Regions from separate parts of the Homo sapiens genome. Here all the other regions are linked to region 5. The links are contacts of gene promoters, found by promoter capture Hi-C in blood cells and fetal thymus (Javierre and others, 2016). All regions are on one chromosome and are shown on one strand. Each heading gives the region's core, a stretch centred on a gene start or on the middle of the fragment in contact. The rest is flanking DNA. Distances are from core to core; before and after follow the strand shown. Region 1 overlaps RAPGEF6 (Rap guanine nucleotide exchange factor 6). Region 2 overlaps LOC105379173 (a long non-coding RNA gene). Region 3 overlaps RAPGEF6 (Rap guanine nucleotide exchange factor 6). Region 4 overlaps RAPGEF6 (Rap guanine nucleotide exchange factor 6). Region 5 holds the start of ACSL6 (acyl-CoA synthetase long chain family member 6).

Evidence for each region. Contacts are between HindIII fragments. The CHiCAGO score rates a contact against its expected background, and 5 or more counts as called.
Region 1: a fragment that was not itself captured here is called in contact with the fragment with the promoter of ACSL6 in region 5 in 1 of 17 cell types (activated CD4 T cells); the score reaches 5.6 in activated CD4 T cells.
Region 2: a contact is called between a fragment that was not itself captured here and the fragment with the promoter of ACSL6 in region 5, in 1 of 17 cell types (endothelial precursors). The highest score is 6.0, in endothelial precursors.
Region 3: a fragment that was not itself captured here is called in contact with the fragment with the promoter of ACSL6 in region 5 in 5 of 17 cell types (endothelial precursors, M2 macrophages, erythroblasts and 2 more); the score reaches 10.0 in endothelial precursors.
Region 4: a contact is called between a fragment that was not itself captured here and the fragment with the promoter of ACSL6 in region 5, in 1 of 17 cell types (naive CD8 T cells). The highest score is 5.0, in naive CD8 T cells.

The regions. Positions count from the first base shown.
Region 1 is chr5:131,485,073-131,490,007 of GRCh38, reverse strand. It overlaps RAPGEF6 (Rap guanine nucleotide exchange factor 6), which reads left to right. Exons shown (of 28, transcript NM_016340.6): 15 at 354-462. Among named protein-coding and RNA genes, the nearest start is that of RAPGEF6, 150 kb to the left of the region's middle. The HindIII fragment of the contact is 1,079 bases long and covers 1,624-2,702 here.
Region 2 is chr5:131,405,185-131,410,470 of GRCh38, reverse strand. It overlaps LOC105379173 (a long non-coding RNA gene), which reads left to right. Exons shown (of 3, transcript XR_007058929.1): 3 at 2,264-5,286. Among named protein-coding and RNA genes, the nearest start is that of CDC42SE2, 140 kb to the right of the region's middle. RefSeq lists a silencer at 1,571-1,752. The HindIII fragment of the contact is 1,283 bases long and covers 1,021-2,303 here.
Region 3 is chr5:131,443,643-131,448,977 of GRCh38, reverse strand. It overlaps RAPGEF6 (Rap guanine nucleotide exchange factor 6), which reads left to right. Exons shown (of 28, transcript NM_016340.6): 22 at 2,275-2,495. Among named protein-coding and RNA genes, the nearest start is that of CDC42SE2, 180 kb to the right of the region's middle. The HindIII fragment of the contact is 1,407 bases long and covers 2,720-4,126 here.
Region 4 is chr5:131,464,245-131,469,650 of GRCh38, reverse strand. RAPGEF6 (Rap guanine nucleotide exchange factor 6) reads left to right here. Exons shown (of 28, transcript NM_016340.6): 18 at 5,370-5,406. Among named protein-coding and RNA genes, the nearest start is that of RAPGEF6, 170 kb to the left of the region's middle. The HindIII fragment of the contact is 6,775 bases long and covers 1-5,406 here.
Region 5 is chr5:132,008,214-132,013,366 of GRCh38, reverse strand. ACSL6 (acyl-CoA synthetase long chain family member 6) reads left to right here and starts at 1,709. Exons shown (of 21, transcript NM_001009185.3): 1 at 1,709-1,862. The coding sequence starts at 1,814. It overlaps LOC124901062 (a long non-coding RNA gene), which reads right to left and starts at 1,911. Exons shown (of 2, transcript XR_007058933.1): 1 at 1,822-1,911. The HindIII fragment of the contact is 2,609 bases long and covers 224-2,832 here.

The sequences.
Region 1 (4,935 bases), core at 914-3,413, 520 kb after region 5:
TTGACAAATTTGTATATACATTTGCAGGCAATAATTTTTATGAGCTGATCTGCCATGATTAAATGTTTTCCTTTGTAAACCATCTGGTGTGGGTATTTTTTAAATTTCCTCAGTATGATCCCAGAGGGCATTAACTGTCAAAAAAAAAAAAGTTTATAGTAAAGAATTTGGAAAATACAACAATATAGAGAAAAAGAAAAACAGTAGTCCAGCTTCTCACAGAGATAACTGTTGTTCACATAGGAGTACATTTTATTCAAGTTTCATTTTATTTATTCACTATTAAACTTTTAAGGTTGTAGGAGTAACTAATACTGTTCTGTATTAATTTGTATTTTTTAAATACTTTTAAGATTATGGAAGTAAATGGACAAAACTTTGAGAATATTACATTTATGAAAGCCGTTGAAATTTTGAGGAATAATACTCATCTTGCACTTACTGTGAAGACCAACATTTTTGGTGAGTTTTGTTGTAAAAATTGCCTGAACTCTTTCTTCTTAATTTGGTAATAGAAAAGTCATTACAGTGGAAGAAAAGATAGTAAAATATAAACATGTTTTTGTCTAAGCTCTTCAGCTAGTTTCAGAATCTTTAGTTTTGAACTATTATGTATTCTAGAATTTTCATTTTTCATTATGTTTTTAATTATTTTGATAGTAAGTTTTAAAATAGGTGTACAGCTACCTTCAGTTATTTATGAAATTCCTATGGAGCGTGTATTATGTACTCTGCTGGAGGGATACTGAATGAAATATAGAATGTCCGGAATAAAACTAAGAAGTCATAATCAGGCATTTTTTCCCCCAGCTAGTGTGCAAATTAGTCTACTTCTAATCTTTAAGCCAGCTTTCTGAAGTAATATGAATGCCAGATTAGCTGTTTTATGGAAATAAACTGAGTAAAGCATTGACTTAAGTACTTAGTGAATTACAGATTTCTAATAAGAGCATACTCTACCTTTGTGTGGAAAAATGATTACAGTGCCTCTGTTGTGTTTTTATCATGTTTATATTTAAATAAAACCAGTGACTAAGCTCATACTTTTAACCAAATCTACTGTGTGTTTTTTTAAACTTTTAGGAAAGATTTAATGTGATTTGATTGCCTTAGACACTTTAGGATTTTTCAGAAATTCTGAAAAGAGTAACAGTAAAAATCATACAGCAATTGAAATAACAAAGAAACTTTAAGAGTCCTTATGAAGTAGGGAGGAAAACAAATCTCTCTAGGTTTTTTAGGTTACAATTTGAGAAGTAAGAGTTGGCTTTAAAAGCTATGCCTACGGAAGGGAAGTGTGAGTTTTATTTTTTTCACTTTGGCTTTTTATATTGTGCTTAGTCATAATGAAAAATGAAACGTGGGGTTTTTCCTCTTTTTGAGTCCCTTTGACTGAATTACATCATGTTAAATCTGGTAAACTGTCAATTGGCAATTTAGTATTATATTACTTTAGCATAGAATAAGTAAGTAAGCCTTCAGAATTTTTTGATTTCCTGGAGTTTCGACTAATATCTAGAAATGCCAACTTTTAGGTTAAATGAAAGAGATTTCCAGTTTCGAAAAATAAGAAAGCAGGACTTGCTCTCTTACTTTGAGCAAATTATTTAGTCTTTCCAAGCTTCAGTTTCTCTAGCACTATTTCCTAGGTTTCTTCTAAGTATCTAATACCTTTAAACCTTTTGTACCCGTCACATAAAGATTACTAACTGGTATTAAATATTCTGAATAAAAATACAGAGATAGTGTGAACCCCCATGAACTCTGGGACACAGAAAAGTAGATCTGAAGGATGCAAAAGACAGAAGCCATACCCTCAGAACCCTTTGAGTAGTGGGAAAACAGTTGGCCAACAGAACCCTAGGTTGGATATAGCAGAGGGTAGAAGTTACATGGAGCTGCAAAGGGGGAACATAGCAGTCACCTCTTTCTTCCTTACCCTAGGAGGAAAGCAAAACACCAAGGAGAAAGCTAAATACCTCATGTTTAGATTTAGAAAATGCACCCAGAGAAGAAAACAGCTGGCAATCTCAGTTTACTCTCTTTCTATTCTGGAATTTTAATTTATCTATTAAATTACAAAGGAATATTTGTAAAATATTTGTAGAAATGGAGCATTTTACTCTAGATGTGGTGATGCCCCTAATAAAGCCCTAATAACTCTGGCATTACCATGAAATAGAGTTGAGCAGTTAGGTTGTCCTGTATCAAACTTACAGTGAGGACACCTACAAAAAGGAAACCTGTGACCAGAAGACATTGGTTCAGTGATACTGAGAGGTGAAGCCAGCTGGACTTCCTGGGTCAAGTAGGGACTCGGAGAACATTTCTGTCTAGCTAGAGATTGTAAACGCACCAATCAGCACTCTGTAAAAACACACCAATCAGCGCTCTGGGTCTAGGTAAAGGATTGTAAATGCACCAATCAGCACTCTGTGTCTAGCTAAAGGATTGTAAATGCACAATCAGCACTCTGTAAAAACGCACCAATCAGTGCTCTGTGTCTAGCTAAAGGATTGTAAATGCACCAATCAGCACTCTGTAAAATGGACCAATTAGCACTCTGTAAAATGGACCAATCAAGCACTCTGTAAAATGGACCAATCAGCAGGATGTGGGCAGGGACAAATAAGGGAATAAAAGCTGGCCACCCCAGCCAGCAGGGGCAAGCTGCCAGGGTCCCCTTCCACCCTCTGGAAGCTTTGTTCTTTCATTCTTCACAATAAATCTTGCTGCTGCTCACTCTTTGGGTCTGCACCACCTTTAAGAGCTGTAACACTCGCCGCGAAGGTCCGCGGCTTCATTCTTGAAGTCAGCAAGACCATGAACCCACCGGAAGGAAGAAACTCCGGACACATCTGAAGGAACAAACTCCAGACACACCATCTTTAAGAGCTGTAACACTCAACCGTGAAGGTCTGCATCTTCATTCTTGAAGTCAGCGAGACCAGGAACCCACCGGAAGGAACCAACTCTGGACACAATACTAGAACAAACCATTCTCAGTCCTTTTATTACTTAAAACTGACGATCAGGGATCACCAAGCATAAGGAGAATCAGGATCATTGAGAGGGTGTGGTAGAGACCTAATGAGTGATCTTATAGATTCTGGAGAAAATATTTAAAGGAGAGAAGAAAAACATTTCTAGGACGCTGCACAGAGCAATTTAAAAATTTATCCCTTGAGAGGCAGAGCTTGCAGTGAGCCGAGATTGCGCCACTGCACTCCCGCCTGGGGGACAGAGCGAGACTCTATCTCAAAAAAAAAAAAAAAAAAAAATTTATCCCTTGAAACAAGAACAGGATATTAGGAAAGAATAAACAACAATCATTGAGAAAGAAGTAACTCTTACAGACAAAAACATTTGTTTGAAAGAATAGATAATAAAGTTGAGAAAAATCTCCCATACTATGGAACAAAAAGACAAAGTAAAATTAAGCTCTATTCCAGGATATCTAAAAGAAAATGTAAGGAAGAAGATGTTTAGGAAATAATAGCAGAGAATATCCCAGAGTAAAAGAAGGATGTGACTCTCGTATTTCAAAGGCCTCACTATGAGCTGAGGAAAATGTATTAAACAAAACTTGTGTCAACTTTCTACTTCCAGTATTGACTGAAGACAACTTAAAAGAGCTAGACTAAATATGAAAAACTATAAACAAACATAACAATCCAAAAAGATAGTGAAAAACTCTGGATGTGTCAAAGCCTTTTCCCACTCCTGGGACCATATCCCAAAGTGATGTCTCTTTTTCCAGGGCCATTTTCCCATCCGTAGAATAAAACTGAGAGGAGCTCCTTGATAAACTTACAGGTTTGTAGTTTAGTGCCCACCAAAGGATAAAATAGTAGCATTACAACCTTTGTTAGGATTGAGACTTTGAAAACCTCTCTCTGAAGTGGATGTGCGCTGTACCTAACTGACCATCTAGGTGACCAAGAAAAACTTACAGTTTTGGCCCTGGACTTAGATTATAGGTGCCTGACAAAAGAAAATAAATATGTTCTTTAGAGGATACTAACAGCAACTTGTTATTTCTAAAAATAATTTTTTAAAAACAGAGTCAAGCAAAGATTATGAGGCACTCTTAAAAGTCAGTATGAGCCAGAACCAACAGAAACAGAAGCACAGTTGCTCCAGAATATCAGACACAGATTTTAAGTTTGCTATCTTTTATGTCCATGAAGATAAAAATCAAATTAAGTGTTCCATTTCCAGATAAGATGGAGTAAACACACACCACCCTTCATCTCTCACTGAACTTAATAGTAAACCTGGACAGAATCATGACCCACTTAGCTGAGAACTCTGAAAAGCAAATAGCAACAGGCAATTCGCAGAAGAATACCATAATTCAAAGTACCACTACCAGCAATGAATTCACTATTATTTTAATTCTAGTATGCCCTAGGTTGGACTCAAGGCAACCTAAAACCTGGATGTGAGTACTGTGGTACAGACAGAGATCCAGGAGAAGCCTGGCTTGAGGAATGAGAAAAGGGAACTCCTACTAATAGCAGTTGTCCTGTGGAGAAAAGTGACACTGCTTTTAGGCTTCATTGAATTCTAGTTTTCATGCAAGTGCTCACAGCCATCTAAAGTTCTCTCTCTCCTCGAAGAGTCCCTCTACCTGACCCACACCTCATGTTTAGATTTAGCAAATGCACCCAGAGAAGAAAACAGCTGGCAGTCTCAGTTTACTCTCTTCCTATCCTGGAATTTTAACTTATTCCTCTTGGCTTCCACAGCTTTCTAAAATCTTTAAAAATCCCACTTCTAGCCAAGCATGGTGGCTCATGCCTGTAATCCTAGCAATTTAGGAGGCTGAGGCGGGAGGATCACTTGAGGCTAGGAGTTCCAAGACCAGCCTGGGCAACATAGTGAGACCTGGTCTCTACAAAACACTAAAATTTAGCTGGGCATGGTAGCATG
Region 2 (5,286 bases), core at 413-2,912, 600 kb after region 5:
TGGCTCACTGCAAGCTCCACCTCCCAGGTTCACGCCATTCTCCTGCATCAGCCTCCCAAGTAGCTGGGACTACAGGCGCCCGCCACCACACCTGGATAATTTTTTGTATTTTTCAGTAGAGACGGGGTTTCGCCGTGTTAGCCAGGATGGTCTCAATCTCCTGACCTCGTGATCCACCCGCCTCGGCCTCCCAAAGTGCTGGGATTACAGGCGTGAGCCACCGTGCCCGGCCCAGAAGATTTTTAACTTGTTGTGATTCCATTTGTCCATTTTATTTTATTTTATTTTATTGAGACAGAATCTCACTCGGTTGCCAGGCTGGAGTGCAGTGGCGCGATCTCGGCTCACTGCAGGCTCCACCTCCTAGGTTCAAGTGATTCTCCTGCCTCAGCCTCCAGAGTAGCTGGAACTACAGGTGTGCGCCACCATGCCCAGCTAATTTTTGTATTTTTATTAGAGACAAGGTTTCACCATGTTGGCTAGGATGGTTTTGATCTCTTGACCTTGTGATCCACCCACCTCAGCCTCCCAAAGTGTTGGGATTACAGGTGTGAGCCACCACACCCGGCCCCATTTGTCCATTTTTGCTTTGGTTGCCTGTGCTTGTAGGGTGTTGCTCATGAAATTTTTGCCTAGACCAATGTCCTGGAGACTTTCCTCAATGTTTTCTTGTAGTCGTTTCATAGTTTGAGGTCTTAGTTTTAAATCCTTAATCCATTTTGATTTGATTTTTTTATATGGTGAGAGGTGTCTAATTTCATTCTTCTGAATATGGAAATCCAGTTTTCCCAGCACCATTTATTGAAGAGACTGTCTTCAGTGTATGTTCTTGGCACCTTTGTTGAAAATGAATTCACTCTAGGTGCATGGACTTCTTTCTGTGTTCTCTATTCTGTTCCATTGGTCTTTGTCTGTTTTTATGCCAGAACCATGTTCTTTTGGTTACTATACCTCCATAGTATAATTTGAAGTCAGGTAATGTGATTCCTTCTGTTTTGTTCTTTTTGCTTAGGATAAGCTTGGCTGTGCTGAGTCTTTTGTGGTTCCATATAAATTTTAGGATTTTTTTTTTCTATTTCTGTGAAGAATGTCATTGGTATTTTAATAAAGACAAAATAGATGAACCTTGAGAACAAACATGCCAAGTAAAATAAGCCAGTCACTGAAAGACAAATATTGTATGATTCCACATATATATGGATACATGAGAACATGTATATGAATTTATGAGGTACTTAGAGCAGTCAAATTCATAGATAAAGTAGAATGGTGGTTGCCAGGCGTAGGGAGAAATGGGGAGTTATTTAATTAGTATAGTTTTGCAAGATGAAAATGTTCAACAGCAATGCGAATGTGGTTGTACAACATGTGAAAGTACTTAACACTACTGATATCGTACTCTTAAAAATGGTTAAGACTTCTGGGCTTGATGGCTCACACTTGTAATCCTGGTACTTTGGAAGGCCAAGGTGGGTGAATCACTTGAGGCCGAGAGTTCAAGACCAGCCTGGGCAACATGGTGAAATCCTGTCTCTACTGAAAATACAAAACTTGGCTGGGCATGGTGGCGTGCGCCTGTAGTCCCAGCTACTCAGGAGGCTGAGGTATGAGGTTTACTTGAACGTGGGAGGCAGAGGTTGCAGTGAGCCAAGATCACGCTACTGTGCTCTAGCCTGGAAGACAGAGGGAGAATCGGTCTCAAAAAAAAAAAAAAAAAAGACCAGGCATGATGGCTTATGCCTATAATCCCAGCACTTTGGGAGGCTGAGGCAAGAGAATTGCTTGAGCCCAGGAGTTGAAGACCCGCCTGGCAACAGAGCAAGACTCCTGTCTATACAAATAAAAACTTTTAAAAATTAACTGAGCATGGTGATGGGCACCTGTAGTCCCAGCTACTTGGTTGGCTGAAGTGGGAGAATCGCTTGAGCCCTGGAGTTAGAGGCTGCAGTAAGCTATGATCCCACCACTGCATGCCAGCCAGGGCAACAGAGTCTCAAAAAGGAAAAACAATGGTTAACATGGTAAATTTTATGTTGTGTATATTTTACTGCAGTTAAAAAAATAAAGATCTCCTGGTTCTTTGGCTTTAGCTCAAAAAGGCTTTGGATCTCTGTAAAATTCATGTTAGTATGTAATTTGATTCACAATGATGCAGAATCAGTTAGACTTCTGTATGTTTTACTTTGTCCCTTTTGATCATTGTAACACCTCTTCGTCTGTTTTATACATTGCTGCATGAGTTATTTTCTTTCTTCTCTATCAGTCTATCCACAAGATCTCTGAAGAGATCAGGTGTCCAAGCTTTGGCCCAGCAAACACATTCTAGAAACTTCTTGCCAGAGAAGCAGCCATTCTCAGCTCAGGTAAGGTTGTTCAAAGCCAACAGCAGGTGGGAAAATAGAAGGGAAACATTATGGAAATCAAGTGTACATTAAGAATTGCCTTACAGTAGACTTGGACACACAGCTGAAAAATGAAAGTCAGACTCAATTGCCCGATGTACTTTTCTCTTTTCACATTTACATGCGTACTTGGGATAAACAATAATTGAGACCACCTGTGCCCAACACGCTATGCCAGCAAAAATTGTTGCCTTTAGTGAGATCTTGTTAAAAAGCAGGTGTGTGAGAGCCTGACCATAATAAGAATTGGAGACCCTAAAAGAGACCATGTTAAAAGCTCAGATTTTTCAGCAACTACTCAAGACCTCAAGACTGGGCTGTTTTTGTTCCTCAGGCAGCAGGAATTCTGCATGGCTCTATAAACCATAACACACGGGGTCCTTGTTTGCTTGAGGGCACTAAGATGATGACTGGTGTTTTATACAGAGCATACTTGCTGTGCATCGCATATAGCAGGGACTTAATAGTGGATGAGCAGATCATGAATGGCTTGAGAAAAGCCATTTGATAATTTCAACTGAAACCTCAGACACAAATCTTGATGTAGCATCGCATGTGGAAAACACCACGTGCCAAACCCTGTGACATGGACATTGGACTTTCCTAGCCTGCCAGGCGCTAAGGAAGGGGACAACCCATTGCAGCCAAGCCAGGAAGTCAATGAGAGGCAAACACAGCATGGTCTAGGATTAAACAAACCTCTTAGTGATCTCCTTGACTCAGAATCCAGAATGCAGGGCAGTTCTTTGACCTGCCTTACATTGGCACACTCGTCTTTCTGCTTGGCAGTTTGTGAACTGAGTAGAGAGTTTTCTCTCTTGTCTGCCAGTCACCTCTTGCAGCTCTCTGACATAATGAATAATCTGAAGGCAGGCAGGCACTTCAGTCTAGCTGAAGGCTGCTCTTGTGAAAGTTCCTCAGGCCCTTGGTGTTTCATAAAATGGGGGATTTGTAAGGACTAGTGAAAGAGAAAATCAGCAACATAGGCTTCTGATGAAACAGGTGGTAAAAATGCTCACATAATTACCATCTCCATTTTCCTTCTTAAGAAAAAAACACAAAGTAGAACTTCCAGAATAGGTTCAATTATCGGTTTATTCAGTAGACTTTTTTTTTTTTTTTTTTTTGAGACGGAGTCTCGCACTGTCACCCAGGCTGGAGTGCAGTGGCACAATCTTTGCTCACTGCAAACTCTGCCTCCCGGGTTCAAGCGATTCTCCCGCCTCAGCCGCCTGACCAGCTGGGACTACAGGCACCCGCCACCATGCCCAGCTAATTTTTGTATTTTTAGTAGAGACGAGGTTTCACCATGTTGGCCAGGATGGTCTTGATCTCCTGACCTCGTGATCCACCCGCCTCAGCCTCCCAAAGTGCTGGGATTACAGGTGTGAGCCACCACACCTGGCCATTAGACTTTTATTAGTTCCAGATTTCTATTTTACAGCCCCAGCCTAACAAGGGAGGAGAGAGGGGAGCTCAGCAAGTTCCGGCACAGGAGGAGCTGAGTAAACACAAGTCCTGTGATGGGCATGGGCTTTGCTTATGTGATCTAATTCTCACAACCATCCTAGAAAAGAGCTTTTACTCTCCCAGTTTCATAGATTATGAAACAGATGGTTGGAGATGATACATATCTTGCTCAAAGCCAAAGAGCTAATAACTGGGTATTCCCTGGAACACCCAAGGGTCAGGATGCAACACCTCCAGGGCACTTGAGCTCTCCTTCCTGCTCTCCACTTGTCATTTCAGCTGTCTGTTGGCCTTATCCTTCCCCATTACCAGCAGGTTTTCTTCACGTGCTGGGCTATAGTTATGTGAAGTGTCTGGGGTCATACAGGAACTGACCCCGCTCTACAAGCTGGAAATTCCAGGGAAGGCCTCACCCTAGCCTGCCCTCATGCACACACCTGTGGGGAGGAGAGAACTGGTTACTGTGACTGGCAGGCCCACCAGAACCCCACAGATTGGGGAAGCAATAGTTGCCCAAAGAAATGGATTTGGGGAATTGTTATAAGACAGGGAAACATAGGAACTCTTACAGGACAGAATGACGAACTGGGGTTAAGTCTGGTAAGTTACCTGCTGCCAGTGCTTATCTCTGTTGTCTCAAAGGGGACAGCCATTTACATAGGTCTCAGAGAGGCAGATGCAGAAAAGAGGAGTCTAAGCTACTCTGCTAGACTTACAGGGACCGTCTTCCTGGCTGTCACCTGGCTGGAGGGGAAAATGCCTGCAGCCTCAAATCTTTTGCTCATTAGGAGCCCAGACCCAACACTGTGTTCTGTGCCCTAGAAACTTAGGAAGATGTTGTATTATTTAAACCAAATAGTGTAGGCTGGACAGGGTTCAGAATGAAAGGCTTCAAACATTTTTTAATTTGAAAATAAGTACTAAAAATAGGCAGTTACCAAATGCCAGTAACAATCTAGCAGCAGTACCTACCCCAAGGTCCAGGCCACAGCAGACACCTTGTGGGCTTTGGGGAGGTCCAAGGCCAGAAAGCACATTCAGTGTCTGCTCCAAGTAGTAAGTGAGTCTACTCAGGCCCAGGCAGGACCACAACTCTACCTTCCCCGTCCTGTCCTTCCTGGAACAGAAAGAGCTCTTTGGCCTCATCTGGTCTATTTCTTTGATCCTCAAGGAAGCCATGAGCTCAAATAGAATTTAAATGCAAATTGTGTATTTTTGGTAATGATAGAAAAATAACTACTTTTAAAGCTTGTTAGTGCTTTAGCATGTTATAGCTCTAGGGTTTCAGAGAAATGAAGAACTTGACAAGCAGGAGTTCAAGCACAAGGTCAAGTTTCTCCTTACATTTTGCACTTGTACAATCTCAGTGCTGACTAGCAGCTTTATCTCTAGTGTCCTAGGAGATTTTATGGAT
Region 3 (5,335 bases), core at 2,174-4,673, 570 kb after region 5:
ACTTTCCTTCTATTTTCTTTCTCCCTTCTCTGTGTGTTTCCCATGTGTTTTCTTCTGGATCGCAAATTTATGTCTTGGTCTCTTTTGGCTCTTCTCACTGAAAATAGAAATTGATACCTGGCATTACTATTATAAAGAAGAATACTTGGACAATATCTTTTAGTGGGCATTGGGTGTGTTTGAATGACTTATGTTAACATGTTTCACGTTCATTCAGCTTTAGGGTTACACTGTATGATGCTTACAAACATTAGGTATATTTATTTTATATCAGCAATTTTCTGTTTTCAAAGTAGTTTAGAAAACATTTTATCGACGTTTATCACAGTGTTTTTATTTGTTAGAATTTTGTGTCTCCTAGATTTGTCAACACCTACTTTTTTATATTAACTAAGATAAAAATCATTAAATATTTGTGTTAAAATTTGCTCCTAAATAGCTGCAACTTGATTTTACTGCATTTCTTTGAATTCAAGACAACGTCAATTGTTGGACATATTGTTATTTTATCTACTACTAAGGAAAATCACTGCAGTATCCTGTTACCACTGAGAATTTCTACTTTATGCTTATTGAAGGAGCTCTTATGGACTTGGCTATGGATTTTTATCACAGTGTGAAAACTGAATTTTTAAAAATCAATATTTTTATTCACATAAAAAGGAAAATATAAGCAAAGTAAATTGGTTTAGGTTTTCCTAAAATTTCTTTATATTCAAAATATGAATCTTCTGAAACGTTTTCTTTTAGAGTCATTAGCTTCTGGATTTTGTTTTCCAGAACCCTCCTTCCCCATACAGTATTGCCCTCTGTGCCATCCAGTGTGTTGGTAATGCACCATTTCTTTGAAAAACCACAAAAGAACCAAAAGCTGCTGGTGCTGGGCTCTCAGGCTAGCTTTGGAAATAATTAGAATTAGTTTTCTCTTGTCACTTGCTTTGGGAATGTTCTTGAACTTGTCAGATTTACTACTTCCTTATAATCATTTGGTCCCTGGAGGTTAAAAGACTAATTCACTAATGGCTTTGGATTTTCTTTCAAGCCATTCTGCAAGTTTTGAGGTCTCTGCAGATGTAAATAATGTCTTGTCATAGTTTCTGCCTGGCCAATAGCAATTGAAAGTTGCCATTCAGTGTAAGATATACCCCTATTGGAAAGATCTTAAAATGTGAAAGAAAAAAATGCCATAACACTTTTTCAACTATATTTCACTTAATTTACAATGAAAGCATTAGGATTTTAGTGTCTATTTTAAAGTAGATATATGAGCACTGTGGTCTTTGTATTTAGAATACTTTTATATAAAAATGGAGCTTAATTTAGAAAATCCATAGATAACCTTATTATTTTGGAATGGCAAAATAAAATACCATCTAAATAAAAATTATATAAGAATTTTGTATTTGTTAGCCTTGTTAGAAAGGACAAACATCATTGCAGTTGCTGTTTTCCATTGGTTCTAGATGTGCAGTCGTTGTAGGATGTTTGCCAAAAAGAGTAGAGTCGGGTGAAGCTGTAGTTTGTTTGAATTGTGGTTATTTCCACCCAGCTTGCAATTCTGTCACATTCACAGGCATTACAAAAGTGATGTCCCAGATCCTCAGTTCTAGAACCCAAATATTGCCTAACCATTCCATATTTGAGGGAAGCATTGAGTTTTTACTGCATTCTGATGTCCGACTGTATTGAATTGCATATAAATGCTGTAAATTTTCAGCTAACGTGTTATTGGTAGTTCTGTTTGAGTTTTGGCCAAAATAATGGTTACTAGTAAAATTGGTTAACATGCTCACAGTGGGCCTGCTATAATGGTAGTGGCAATAGCATGTCCAAAGCAGAACAACAAGCAAAACTACTTTAGAACCCTCATTGCTAAAGAACCCTGGTTCAGAGATTCGGCTGAGGATGGACTTGTCGTGGTCCAGACTCTTGCCATATCTTCAAAGCGTGGGTGGCCTCCAGGACCAGAGGAATGCTTTTTCTTGTTACTGTTGTGCCATAGGTTGCATAGGCACAAACACAGGCCTGATGGAATATGCCACTCAGGGGGCCATTGTTATCCTATTCTTTTGAATTCTGTACTTTGCCAAATCCTGTTCTTAATTCAGAACGTCACCATATGTGCCAAATTACTTTGCATTAATGCTCTTCATCTTTTAACTCATTTACATCAGCATGCAATAGCATTAACAGAACAAAATCTTTTAATCTTCAATCTGCTATGCTTAGTTCTCATCTCTATAGCCCCTTATTGTGATTTTCATCTTCTTATAGGTCACTGAGTCAAGGAAGCACAAATTCAAACATGCTGGATGTTCAGGGAGGTGCTCACAAAAAAAGGGCACGCCGCAGCTCTCTGCTTAATGCCAAGAAGCTATATGAGGATGCCCAAATGGCAAGGAAGGTGAAGCAGTATCTTTCCAGTCTCGATGTAGAGACAGATGAGGAGAAGTTCCAGATGATGTCATTACAGTGGGAGCCTGCATATGGTACCTGTGAGTACAAGTTTTCATTTATGTGACGCTAAAGAGCACAACAAAATAAAAACTTATTTCTCTAGAATTATACCTAAGTCCCAAGAAAATTAACTTTCACTCACAAAAGATTGCTGGCATACCTTAAGCATCATGTGATCCAATTAATCACAGACTGAATCCCATCCATTCCTGATGGCTACACTATCCAAAAAATAGAGGGATAAGTAGATCTTTAAAAAGCTTTTTAATTCTTTTAAAAACTGGATCATTATAGAGGAGGCTTTCTGTTTGAGAACATTTTTATATTCATCCCTAAAGAGTAAACATAAGTGGAATTTTTACCTCTTTTTATTTCATGGATAATATTTACCAACTAGAAAATATAAGAAATTTGATTAAAACACCAGTGATAATAGGTAGCTTACAGGTGCCAGTAGTAAGGTAAAACAAAAAAAAATCAGACACATTCCAATATTAGTAATCTCTAGAAAATGTGATGGAAAAGATCGTGTTCTCAATATGGATTTTTTTTAATTAAATACAAGCAAGAGAATGCATATATATTTGGATCAAGGAAATTATGAATTCTAAGAGCAGAAATCAAAGATAATGAAATATATACTGTTATAACAAAATAATTGTACATCTTAAATTGTAGGTTAAGGCCAGGCGTGGTGGGTCACACCTAGAAACCTAGGCAGGAGGATCACTTGAGGCCAGCCTTGGCAACTCAAAGAGACCCCATCTCTACAAAAAAAAATTAAAATTATCCAAGTGGTAGTGCTAGCAACTTGGGAGGCTGAGGCAGGCAGGTCACTTGAGCCCAAGAGTTTGAAGCTGCAGTGAGCTAGGACCATGCCAGTGCTCTCCACCCTGGGCAACAAAGTGAGACTCAGTCTCTCAAAAATAAATACGCGCGCACACACAGACACACGCAGTGGGTTAAATTTACAAAGTGAGACTCAGTCTCTAAAAAATAAATACACACACACACACACACACACACAGAGAGTGAGTTAAATTTGCCCATAAAAATTGAAATAGAATTTTATTTCAAAGTTCCTAGTTGACAAGGGGTAGTAGTCATCATGGATTGACCCTAAGATTGATAAATGATATGGTATTTGCATAGTAATTTTTTAAAGTATGTCAAAAGAAAGAATAGAAAACAGGAAGTGGAAATAGAACCAAATACTGATTTTTAAAAATTCAGTTTTGACAATTTTTAAATAAGGGTAAGGAGCCTTTTAATAAGTGCTATAATCAAAACAATATCTTGAATGCTTCTGCATATAAGAAAAGATTTGGAGTATGATGGAAAGAATACCTACGAAAGGATAGAGGCAGAATTTGAGTTTCATTTATTACATTTGAGTAAGGTTTTCTTCATCTTTAGTCCCTGTTTTCTCAAATGTAAAACTTGGGCAAGGGTTGGGAGTACATTTTATTTCTGTGATTCTTTGTACGTCGAAGTTATTAAATTTGGAAAAAGACATTTTTAAAAGCTAACAGTTATTGAGAGCTTTCTACATTCTGGCTGCCACATGTTAAATGGTACATGTTAAAGGTAAAAGCTGAAAGAGTATATAGAACCTTTAACATTTATTCATGCTTTAAAGTTCAAAGCCATGTACATATTTATTAAAGCTTTCTGGCCCTGCTTTGAGTCATCATCAAAGTTATTTTTTCCCAGGTAATTTGATGTAGACTTAATCATCTTATGGTTATGAAACACAGTTTATATACACCCTCATGGCTTCCTCTTCTTACACCCACCCCAGACTTGTGTCTGTCTTTTCTCATAGCACTAAATGATGTCCCATGCTACATATTTAATAAAATGAGAAAATCTTTAGGCCTTTCTTTCTTAAACTGGATTTGAACATTTAGTTAAATGCATGTTCCTTTAATTTGGTTTGAGCATCTTTATAATGCATAATTGATTTTTAAATGTTTAAATAGTCACTATCCGAAGCCCAAACAATAGTTGATTTCTGAGCATTATAGAATTTGATTCTTCCCAATTAATTAGAATATATGTGGTTTTTGTCATTCATCTGTAAACTTATTTTTGAAGTAGTCTCAGGTTTTTTTCTTTGTACTGTAGCAATTATTAAAATAAGATGTCATTGATTAGCATTTACCAATCAATGAGAGAAGGATGAAAGTATTTCATGGCTCTAACCAAAGATGATAACCTCTTGGATTCAATTAGTTGGTGAGCCATTGCAATTTTCTCTTGGGGTCCCTGTATTTGAACTTTCTAAGACATTCTCTGATTCTTATCACCCCAAATATTGTCTAGTCTGTCTTAATAAAAGCATAATAGCTATTATAGCTGTGTTGAGACAGTTTAGACATCTATTTTTGCTTTTATCTTGATGTTTAAAACAAATACTTCATGAAGTACTGAGGCTGCACCTGCATTGAAACCACCCTGGATAACCTAAGGATTAAAAGTACTCCCTGATGGAAGAATGTCTTCCCCTTGGACTATAGTATTGGTTTTATATGAAGGAGGCAGCTTTTATAAGTAAGGGTTCTCAGTTTTTTATTCTCACATTCATATTCAGAAAACCTATGGATTTATAAAAGCACTGTCTCTGGTTTTCTTGTGTTACAGCTGTTGAGATAATTTCACTTATTTATTCAACAAATACCCATTAAGCATCTGTTTTCAGTCAGTTACTGGCACATAAGGATGTAATAACGAACAAAATGCATAGTCCTTACTCTCAAGTAGGTTAAAGCCTAATGAAAGGAACAGAGAAGATAAAGCCTAATGAGAGTATAGGACTGGTGAGAGGAAAGGTAAGCAAGTCAAGTCAAGGGAGCAGGCTGATGCTAAATCATGCAGG
Region 4 (5,406 bases), core at 985-3,484, 540 kb after region 5:
GTCTTTTTAGTCATTTTTTTGAATATATATATGTTTTTAAGTTTGGATGGAATCAGTATACATGCTATTCTGTAACTTCTGAAATGTTCTTTGGGATTTCTGACTCAATACAAAATGAGTCCTAAAAAAAATTAGGAGTGTGGCTAAGAGAAATTTGAAAAGGAATTTTTTTCTATATCTGCATGTAGAACTTACAGCTTACTTCTTTTCACTTAATAGCCCAAACCCTTAATTGATTTATTTCATATAGTAAACTTAATTTTTTCTTCATTGAAAATTTTTTATTATTAGTTTTTAATTATAAAGGAACACAGTCATAGCTTTAAAAAAATTAAACTGCCAGAATAAGATAGAATATAAAAGTTTCCACTCCTCAGAATTTAGTTATTATTTACTTGTATATCCTTCCAGAAATTTCATTGCACATAAAATGTGTCTGCTGTTGCTTTCACCCCAAATGAGATGTTTTACTTTTCTTCCACTTAACTGTTTCACTTTAGCAATATACCTTTGAATACTTTTCTGTTTCAAGGTGTGTTGTTCTACCACAAATTTTTAAACAGCTAACAGAATTTTTTTAAGCAGTCCCCATTAGTAGACATTTACAGTATTGCCTAATCTTTGTGTTCACGTATCTTTACCTGTTTTATGTATGCATTATTATATTTTGAGTTTTGAAAAACTATTTTGTGAGAATTTGTTTTCTCATTATATAAGTGCCTAAAAAATATGTGTTTTGCCATTTGACCTGCAAAACTTAAAATGTTTACTATCTGGCTCTTTGCAGAACAATTTTTTCAATCCTTAATATACCACTACCCTTTGTTTTTTTGTGTGGCGCTTTTTGCTGTATGAATTCTCTTCCTTACTCAATGTCTTGTCTTTCGTCGAGCTCGTGTTTACTCACTTGAATGTAAGTAAATTCCCTGAGAGTGGAGGCTTAATCTGTCTCACTTAGCACTGTAGCTTCATCACCTGGAACCCTGTTGACACATAACAGGCACTTCATAAATATTTATTCAACAATTAACAATTTAAAGCAGAATGAAAAGTCAGTCTTTTTTTTTAAAGATCATCTTAAATACCTAAAAGTTCTCCCATTTTTAGTGTAATCTCAGGGTCAGTACATACATCCTTCAAGTATTCATTTTTTAATTTTACCGCTGTAAGATTTATAAATTAGCTCTCTAGAAACTTCATCTCTGATTGAAAGTCTAGATATCAGGTTTCTATTTAATTTATTTACCTATTACATAAGATTTCTACATATGAAATACAAACCTTGATCCTCCAAGATTTTTTTTTTTTTTTTTTTTTTTGAGATGGAGTCTCGCTTTGTCACCCAGGCTGGAGTGCAGTGGCGCGATCTTGGCTCACTGCAAGCTACGCCTCCCGGGTTCATGCCATTCTCCTGCCTCAGCCTCCCGAGTAGCTGGGATTATAGGTGCCCGCCACCACGCCCAGCTAATTTTTTTGTATTTTTTTTTAGTAGAGATGGGGTTTCACGGTGTTAGCCAGGATGGTCTCATTCTCCTGACCTCGTGATCCGCCCACCTCGGCCTCCCAAAGTGCTGGAATTACTGGCATAAGCCACTGCGCCCGACCCCAAGATTTTTTTTTTTGACAGAGCCTCACTCTGTCACCCAGGCTGGACTGCAGTAGTATGATCTCGGCTCACTGCAGCCTCTACTTCCTGGGCCCAAGTGATCCTCCCACCTCAAACTCCCGAGTAGCTGGGCCTATAGGCACACACCACCACGCCCAGATAATATTTGTAATTTTTGTGGAGGCGGGCTTCTCCATGTTCCCCAGGCTGGTTTTGATCTCCTGGGCTCAAGTGGTCTGCCCACCTCAGCCCCCTAAAGTGCTAGAATTATAAGCATGAACTACCGCCCCTGGCTTCCAAGATTCTTTTTAAATGTCTGTTTTGCCTTTAAAATTGTACTGTATTTTTGTCTGCATTTTAGATTTGTGCCTAAAATTTGAAATGATTGGATCATTTTTTCCCTTTTGATTCAACTTTATTCGAACATATTGACCATTCATCTAAGCGATTAACATTTGAGTGTCTGCTGCATGCCAAATATTGTGCTTGGCATGTATGTGGTTTTCCTACTAACAAGAAACATGTTTGTAAAGAATAGTATGTAATATATACGTAATAATTCTAAAATAGAGGTTTACACTGTCATTAATATTAACGCAGAGAAAGATTTTCCTCTGATGGCTCTCCATTGCTTTTCCAAGTTGACATTTGTTACCTTGGCAGATTCATCAGAGTTTGGATTAAGGGATACCCTTTAGATAATCCCATTTATGAATCTGTTCTAAAGGCACCCATGTGTGATACCTGAATCAATCTTATGTGATCATATAACAATTTGTCCTTCACATGGACAAATCACTTTAACAACGTATGACTTTGTAACACTATGCAGCAAGATATACAATTGTGTGCTCCTTCCCAGAAGATGTTACAGTATATTGGCAGCAAGGGAAGAGAACATGAAATGTGTACAAATTCCCACCCTGTCTTTGTGAATAAATTTCTCTGAAGAAAGTAATAAAAGGTATCAGAACATCTCCCCATTCCCTCAAGGTCAGTCAGTACCACTGGCTAAGGCTCAGCCCCCAAAGATCTAGTAAAATGATTCAATTCTGGAGCCCAGGACAGCTAGGACCTACTTTTATGAAGAGGGTAGCAACAGTACAGGTAATAACAGTATATTGTTGGTTCCTTTTTTATGGACTTAAAAAGATAGTGGAAACCCATTTGTTCAGTATATTTCTCTTGGCAAATTGAAATTTCCATTTGTTTGCAATAATCTTCTAGCACAGGGTAGAGAGGTATATTAGTCCGTTTTCATGCTGCTGATAAAGACATACCCAAGACTGGACAATTTACAAAGGAAAGAGGTTTAATGCACTCGCAGTTCCACGTGGCTGGGGAAGCCTCACAATCATGGCAGAAAGCAAGGAGGAGCAAGTCACATCTTGGATGACAGCAGGCAAAGAGAGTTTGTGCAGGGGAACTCCTCTGTTTAAAACCATCAGATCTCGTGAGACTTGTTCACTATTGTGAGAACAGCATGAGAAAGACTCACCCCCATGATTCAGTTACCTCCCACTGGCTCCCTCCCATGACATGTGGGAATTGTGGGAGTTACAATTCAAGATGAGATTTGGTTGGGGACACAGCCAAACCTTTCAAGAAGTATGTCTGATTTTGATGGATCTTGAAACAGTCTGACCTTAAGTCTTGTAGGTTTAAAAACCTGATGATGTCAGCAGCCCACTAAGTATTGGCTCATCAGAATGAAATCTGAACAAGATGCATTTGATGACTCAGATTTCTTAATACATTGAGGAAAGAGAGTTTGATGCATCCTTCTTACAGAAGGAACCAGAGTAGATGAAGTATTCTACTTTCAACTTGAGAGGACCCAGAACATTCAACATATGTTGGCTAAGACTCCTTGTCCCTGGAATTATATTCATGTATATTCAGTTGAATCTTTCAGTCCTCAGAGCAAGTCTTTTTTTTTTTTTTTTTTTGGTCCTCAGTCTCAAGAGGACCAAAAAATTTATTTTATGAAAATATTTCCTGCCATATCTGTATCTGTTCCATTTCTCCCTTTTAACCAGGGATTATACCTCAGGACATTTTGAGATAAATTTGTAATTTGTTTTGTTTTGTTTTGTTTTCCTCTAAAGGCTAACAGTGTCCATAATGCTAAGAAGGTGATGCTGGACAAACAGTATAATTACTTGAGCCCCCAAAATCTTCCATCCTGCCCCCACTGCAGTCATCACACACATACAAAAAAGCCACAGTAATATATATTCCCTAATTCTTTTTTTCTTTTTTGAGACTGGGTCTTACTCTGTTGCCCAGAGTGGAGTGCAGTGGCATGATCTCAGCTCACTGCAGCTTCAACCTCCCAGGCTCAAGTGATGCTCCCACTTCCACCTCCCGAGTAGCTGGAACTACAAGAATGTGCCACCACACCCAGCTAATTTTTAAAAATTTTTTGTAGAGATGGGGTCTTGCTATATATCCAGGCTGGTCTCGAACTCCTGGGCTCAAGTGATCTTCCAGCCTTGGCCTCCCAAAGTCCTGGGATTACAGGTGTGAGTCATACCCAGCCTGTATTCCTAATTTTTTTAAAAAGGAAACTTTTGCAACAGTAATTTATTGTCATAGGGAAAATTTTTAGCATTTGTTCATGCTATAAAGTCACTTTTCACTTAAATTTAATTATATTAAATATTAGCTTATCATGTTGAACATTGGTCCAGAGTTCTATAATGACAAAAAGAAATAAGATAGAACAAGGGGGGGTGGAATATTATTATTTACATGTGCTTATCATATAAACATTGTCTCAAATTAGAATTTTTCTACTAATAGCAGAAATCACAAGGGCAAAGACTAAGATTTCACCAGGTGAACATTTAAAATGTTCTTGTGTTACAAATAAATAAAATATGGAAACTAACATTTTCCACTTCATAGTTGGACTAAGTGTTGTTATCTACTACAATACAGCAGGAAAAAAACATAAGGGATACCAAAAAATATTTTTAAAAAGACATAATGGTTCATTAAACCATTATCAGTTACTGAGTCTTACCAGTAACCAAAGAAATGAAAAAATAATGATATTTTTTTGGAGGGAGGAAAAGAATAGGGCTTATGAAATGGGAAAGCAAAACAAAACATTAATATACAATTTTTGTAAGGATGTGACCAAATTTGTTCCCTTACACTCTAGGATTATAAAATATTATAACGTCTCTGGAGAACAGTTTGGCAGTATATTTCAAAAACCTTAAAAGTATGCGTGCCTTCTAATTCAGCAATTCTGTTTTTGAGAATTTTCACGGAGGAAGTAGATTGCCTGCAGAGGCTTACTTACTTTTGACAGGGGGTAACGGGGCATATCATAATGTCATTTATAATAATAGAAAGTGGTAAGCAATCTAAATGTCATTAGGGGTTTGGATAATTGAAATATATAAAATACATATCATGGAGTACTATGTCTTCATTAAAAATAGTTTTGTAGAAGAATATAATGGCATTAAAATGTTTTATAAGATATTAAATGAAAAAATTCTGGCTTCCAAACCATATATATAGTATGAGCCCAAGTTTTGTTTTTGGGTTTTTCTATCAATGATTTGTTATCTGAAAAAAAAAAAAGGATATATTTATCAATAAATGCAACAGTGACTTCTGTTAATATTGTGAAATAGAAATGTATATTTCAGTGTTCAGAGGGATCACTGTGTTTCACGTTGCTTTTTGAAGGGTTTAAAAGTGATTTTTTTAAAAAATAACAAAGCATATCTTTCTATTTATGTAGATATCCCTGATCAAGTTATAAGAGTTTTCAAAGTGGA
Region 5 (5,153 bases), core at 460-2,959:
TGACCACCTCCCTAGACCAATCTGGTCTGGGGAGATATGTTCTTTCTGCCCAGGCTTCTGGTTCCCCTGGGTCTCCTCTTCAGTACTAGCAGATCTCCAGTTACTCTGCTGCCAGTGGGAGTGTATGGGTGGGGTGGGGGGATTCTCAAAGCCATGTTACTTGCTGGGAGGAGTCCTGCCATACAGCCTCTGTCACACCCTCTTGGAGGAGCCCTGCCAAGCTTGAGATCCCAGCAAAGTCCCTGCCAGGCTGTGGCTGAGTTCAAGCTGGAGCAGCTCTCCCAGGAGTCCAGATCCTATGATGGAGAAGGTGTAGGATCCTATTGTAAAGATTGGAAGTGACTCAGAGGCACACATCTGCACACTTGCACCACTACAAGGTGCACACAGGCCTGGGCACACACATGCCATGTACTCGTACTACAGATACAGGCCCCCCCACACACCCAGCTGCTGAGCTGTGAGCCCACATGCACTCATGGCTGATGGTCTCTGGTGGGCCTGAAGAGATCTCATGCTCTTCCACTCTCTGCTTCCTGACTTCTGCTCTCTGGTTTTCTATCCTCTTCTTTCTGGGCTGTGGCTCAGCCAGCTCCTGGCCTGGGAGGGCTGCGTATAGAGAAGGCCCGGCTGCCTGAGCGCTGTCCTCGGTGCTGGAGTCCTGGTGGGCTCTGCATGCTTGAGGAAAACAAGCAAGGGCATTGGGAAGAGGTGATCTTGCTTGGAGGTGCAGATGTTCATGGGGTGCCCACCAGGATGCCTACCCTTATTATTTCAGAAAATGTGCAACTGGGCTTCCTCCTTTCAATGGCAGACACTGCAACAGGTGTCCAAGCCCTCAGCCCAGCAGTGTGGGCATCTGTGGCTGTGTGTGGCTATATGGCCATTTATTGTGGCTATGAGGGGCTTCTTGAGACCTCGTGTGCCACATACAGTTGTGTACGAAGATCATGATTTCCTCATGAGACACCTGTGATTCCATGTGGCTGCCTGTGACCATGTTACTACTGGTGAACACATATGGCAGCCTGTGATCACACTGAGTCTCCTGTGACCTTGCGTAGCCTCAGACCTGAACTCGTGCGTCCCCAGATGATCTGGGCACTATCTGGTCTAGCTGCCTGATTTGTCAGAGCCTAGGTGAACACTTGCCACTCCCTCCCCTCACTGGTTTGCAGAGGTGGCACCCGGAGGCTCCCCATGTCTGCAAACTCGGGTCCTAGGGGGCGTTGGTGTCAGCGGGCAACAGCCCACAGGAGTGTGCACCTCCTAGGACAGGTAACCGCGACCCGGCTGCCATTCGAGCCTGCCCAGCCATAAAACCCAGGCTGCGAGTCGCGCGGGGGCAGGGTCGCGTGTTGATGGGGTGGGTGGCGGCGGGGTGGGCTCAATGTCACGCTCTGGCGCTCGTCGCCCGTGCTCCCCCTTCCAGCCGGTTTCCGCAGAATGCCAGGTACTGACGTTGGAGAGCGGGGCCGGAGAGGGCTGGTTCGCTCTGCGGCCGGGCCCCTCCCCCGCCCGGGAGCTTGGCGGTTCCGACACCGCGGTCAGTGCGGGGCAAGCCCCAGACCCGGCCGGCCAGGCTGCAGGGCAGGGAGTAAGGCTCGGTTGCGAGTGCGCGCCGCGCCCTCCCCCTTGAGCCGTCTCCGCAGCGGCGCGGGGAGGCGGGAGCTGCGGGGCCGGAGGGCGGGGGCTAAAAATACCCGGCAGCGGCGGCGGCGGCGCGGCTACTGCTGGGGCTGCTGGGCTGCGGGGCTGCGGGGCTGCGGGTCGGGGAGGCCGGGCCGGGCCGGGCCGGGCCCCGCTGACCGCCATGCTGACCTTCTTCCTCGTGTCGGGGGGCTCCCTCTGGCTATTCGTAGGTAAGTGCCCGTCCTGTCCGCGTCCCGGACTCCCATCTCCCGCAGGCTATGAGGTCTTCGCCCGAGGTGGAGGTGTTACATCTCCGCGGCCGCCGAGCCCCCATCCCCTGCTGCTGAGCTGTCCCGTCAAGGTCCCCAGGGCCGCCTAAGTACACCCTCCGCCCCCAGTTCTCGCGGGCTCCGGGCCGGGTTTGGGGAGCACCTGGGTCTGCGGAGGGAGATATAGGGCTTGCTCTCTGCGACCCCACCACAAACCCCCGCCGAGTTCTTGCGTCCCCCTTCCCTGATGGCAAGGACCATCCGCGGATCAGATTAGGCCCTGAGCCAAGGCCAGGAACAGACATTGCGTCCTTGTCCATCTCCTGGGACCAGAAACCGAGGGTGTTGGTCCCCGAGGTCCCACAGCAGGTCAGCTATGTAACCCGGACTGACCTAGGCTTCCTGATCCCGGCGAGGGGCTTCCTCACGACCCCTCCCTGCCCGTCCTTCAGCCAGAGTACAAGATTTCTGTAAGGTAGGGTTCACCTGGCTCCTCTGCTCTGCCCAGGGCTGCTGTGTCTCCACTGTTTCCAGACCCCTCCCCTCCACCTCACAGGAGTCAGCTTCACCACTGCACTTCTTAGGCGGCTACAAGGACCCCTGCTCGATCCCGCCTCCGCGCTTACCTCCCTCAACCCCCCATACACCCACACCTGGAGTCTCACCACAGGCCCTTTTATCTGCCAGTTCTACCACCTGCACCGGCTACTTCCCCTCTCTGAGCCTGGGGTCCTCCAGAGTATAATACCACTAAAGGATCTCCACCTCCACCCCAACCCCCATGTGCAGATTCAGCCTGATAATTTGTGTGCAGTGCTTGATCCTTAAATTGGCCTTAAACCTGTCCTAGGCCACAGCAAATGCTCTATGAATGTTAGTGTTTATTATTATCTCACATTCAAACAGCACCATCAGAAGTGGTAATAAAGCTTTTTCTGAGCCAAGGAAGGGGAGGAAGTTGACCCTCTTGAAATCTTTACCTGAGGCTTTGTACGTGTTATTTAATATTCATGGAAAACCCTAGGAGGTCGGTGGCACCATCCCTTTTTTTACTGAGTTCAGAGGTCAATTGACTTGCCTAGTGTCACATGGATATTTGGCAGACTGGGATTCCATTCGAGGTTTTAATTGATCAACCAATGCTAAGTGCTTGGCTGGATCAGGCCTGAACCTGGAGGGTTGGTGGGCCTAGTAATCACTTCCTTCACCCCCACCATTTCCTTAAGTTAGGCCACAGGGACACTTCCCCTGAGCTGGGAGAGTGAGTGAAGCCTCCCTAATCCCCTCAGCTCCCTAAGCTCCTTCTGTCTGCCAGTGTCTGTGACTGGCTGTGCAGGGGCACTCTGGTCCTGAGGCACATCCAGCAGACAAGGGCAGGGCTAGAGCTGGGGTTGGAGGTAAAGGGCAAGGATAATTAAAATAATGGTGATGGTGGTCGTAACAGCCACCATTTAATGCCTGAGTGATGGATGGTCTCAGAGCCTCTCCCCACTGCCAGGACCCCTTTGCCCTACCCTCAGGAGGCCCCACCCAACCATGGGTCCAAGGTCAGCTCTCTGAAGACTTGATCTTCTGTGGCTGCAGGGAGGTGTCTAGGGGCTGCAAGACCACTTGTGACCGGGGTCATCAGCAGCCTGTGAGAAAAAGTCCCTCACCCTGTGGGGTCCTTGTCTGTGAGCAGGGTTAGCTGGCACTGACTCAAAGTGGAGTCCTGTTTCCTTGTGGAGCATTTCCTAAAGTGGTCAGCTCCCTCCTCTAATGGGAAACTGGGGAATCTGCCTCACTGAGAGACTATACAGGGCCTCAGAACCGTCAAGCAGGAGCGATTCTTGGGGCAGGTAGTGGCTGCTTCCACAGAGGCCGAGCTTCCCAATGCAAAAAGCAAGAGGCTGAGGCTGGTCTATGGTGCTTATTGGATAGAATAACCCAGACAATTGCTGGGGCATTTTAAGTTATGTATCCACCCTCCTTGAGACTCCACCTGGCCCCCAGCCTTTCTCTGGTGGCAGAAGAGACTCCTGAGTTAAGAGCTGTAGTTCTGTGAGCACACCTGAGAACATGCTCTGCCTTGTCATCTCCAGGGTCCCATGGTCCCACGGCAGCTGCCAGATCCCTTCCACTCAGCCAGTAACAGGAGGCAATGTCTCTCTTTAGTAGAGTTATGTGCTTTTTGCCACCTAACCTGGCCCTAGGGAGACAAGGTAGGGCCAGGCAAGGGTTTCCCTCAAGGGCCCTCAGGGAGAGATGACATAAAGTCGGGGATGGGGGTGTGGCAATGCACCAGGAGGAGGAGCTGACTGTTGTTTGTGGGAGGTAGCCATCTGTTCTGGGCTGTGTCTGTCCTGTTGCCTGCTGGAGAGGCCAGCAATGAGTCCTGGGCCAGCCCAGATCTCACCTGTGTGTTGAATACTAAACAAGGAGACAAGTAAAATAAGTCCAGCATGAGTCAGATGCTAGGTCTGGCTTGGGGAAGCATGCCCTCAGTGCCATAAACACCTAGAGGACAATGGGAGCAGAGGATCAGAGCTTCTGCCTGCCTGTACAGCACCTTTGTGCAAAGTAGGAAGAAGTCTCACTCTTGGTGGATAACTTTCTAAAAGGGCACACCTTCCTCTAGGCTAAGGCAGCCCCATGCCGCAGGGTCTAATCTGTTCAATCATATACCCAACCATCAGTGACATATGAGTGGGCTTCTGCAGCATTCAGGGGAATTTGTCAGAGATAGGGAGGCCAAGATCCAAGTGGAGGAAGCCAGACTAGCAGAGTTTGTGGAAGAACTGCAATGGGGGATGAGTCTTCAAGGTCTTGTGCCTGAGCAATGTGGGTTGTGGGAGAGGATTCTGGAGAAGGTTTTATTTGGATGGTAGAGGATCCCTCCATTTAGCTGCTGAGTCAAGAGGAAGAGAGTGGAGTCCAGGAGGGTAGTAGGAGGTCGTTATGATGTTATGGATAAGAATAGATGTGGTCCAAGGATGGCTTGAGTCATGGCTGGGCTCCAGTAAGGAGAAGAGATAAGCCCCCACCCCTGGCCTCTGCCTTAGGAGAAGTGGGGCTGGCCCTGGTGGGGCGAGACAAAGTTGCCCGTCTAAAGAATGGTTTGGCATGCTCCTGGCTATAGATGCCTAGGGCAAGCATAGACTTGCACACTTTGGCTTAGTTCAGGCCTGTGAGATCCTCCCCTTACCCCACTCTGGGCTCCCATTAGGACAGAGAACTGACTTGAGGTCTAGGGCCACCCCAGGGGTTTGGAGA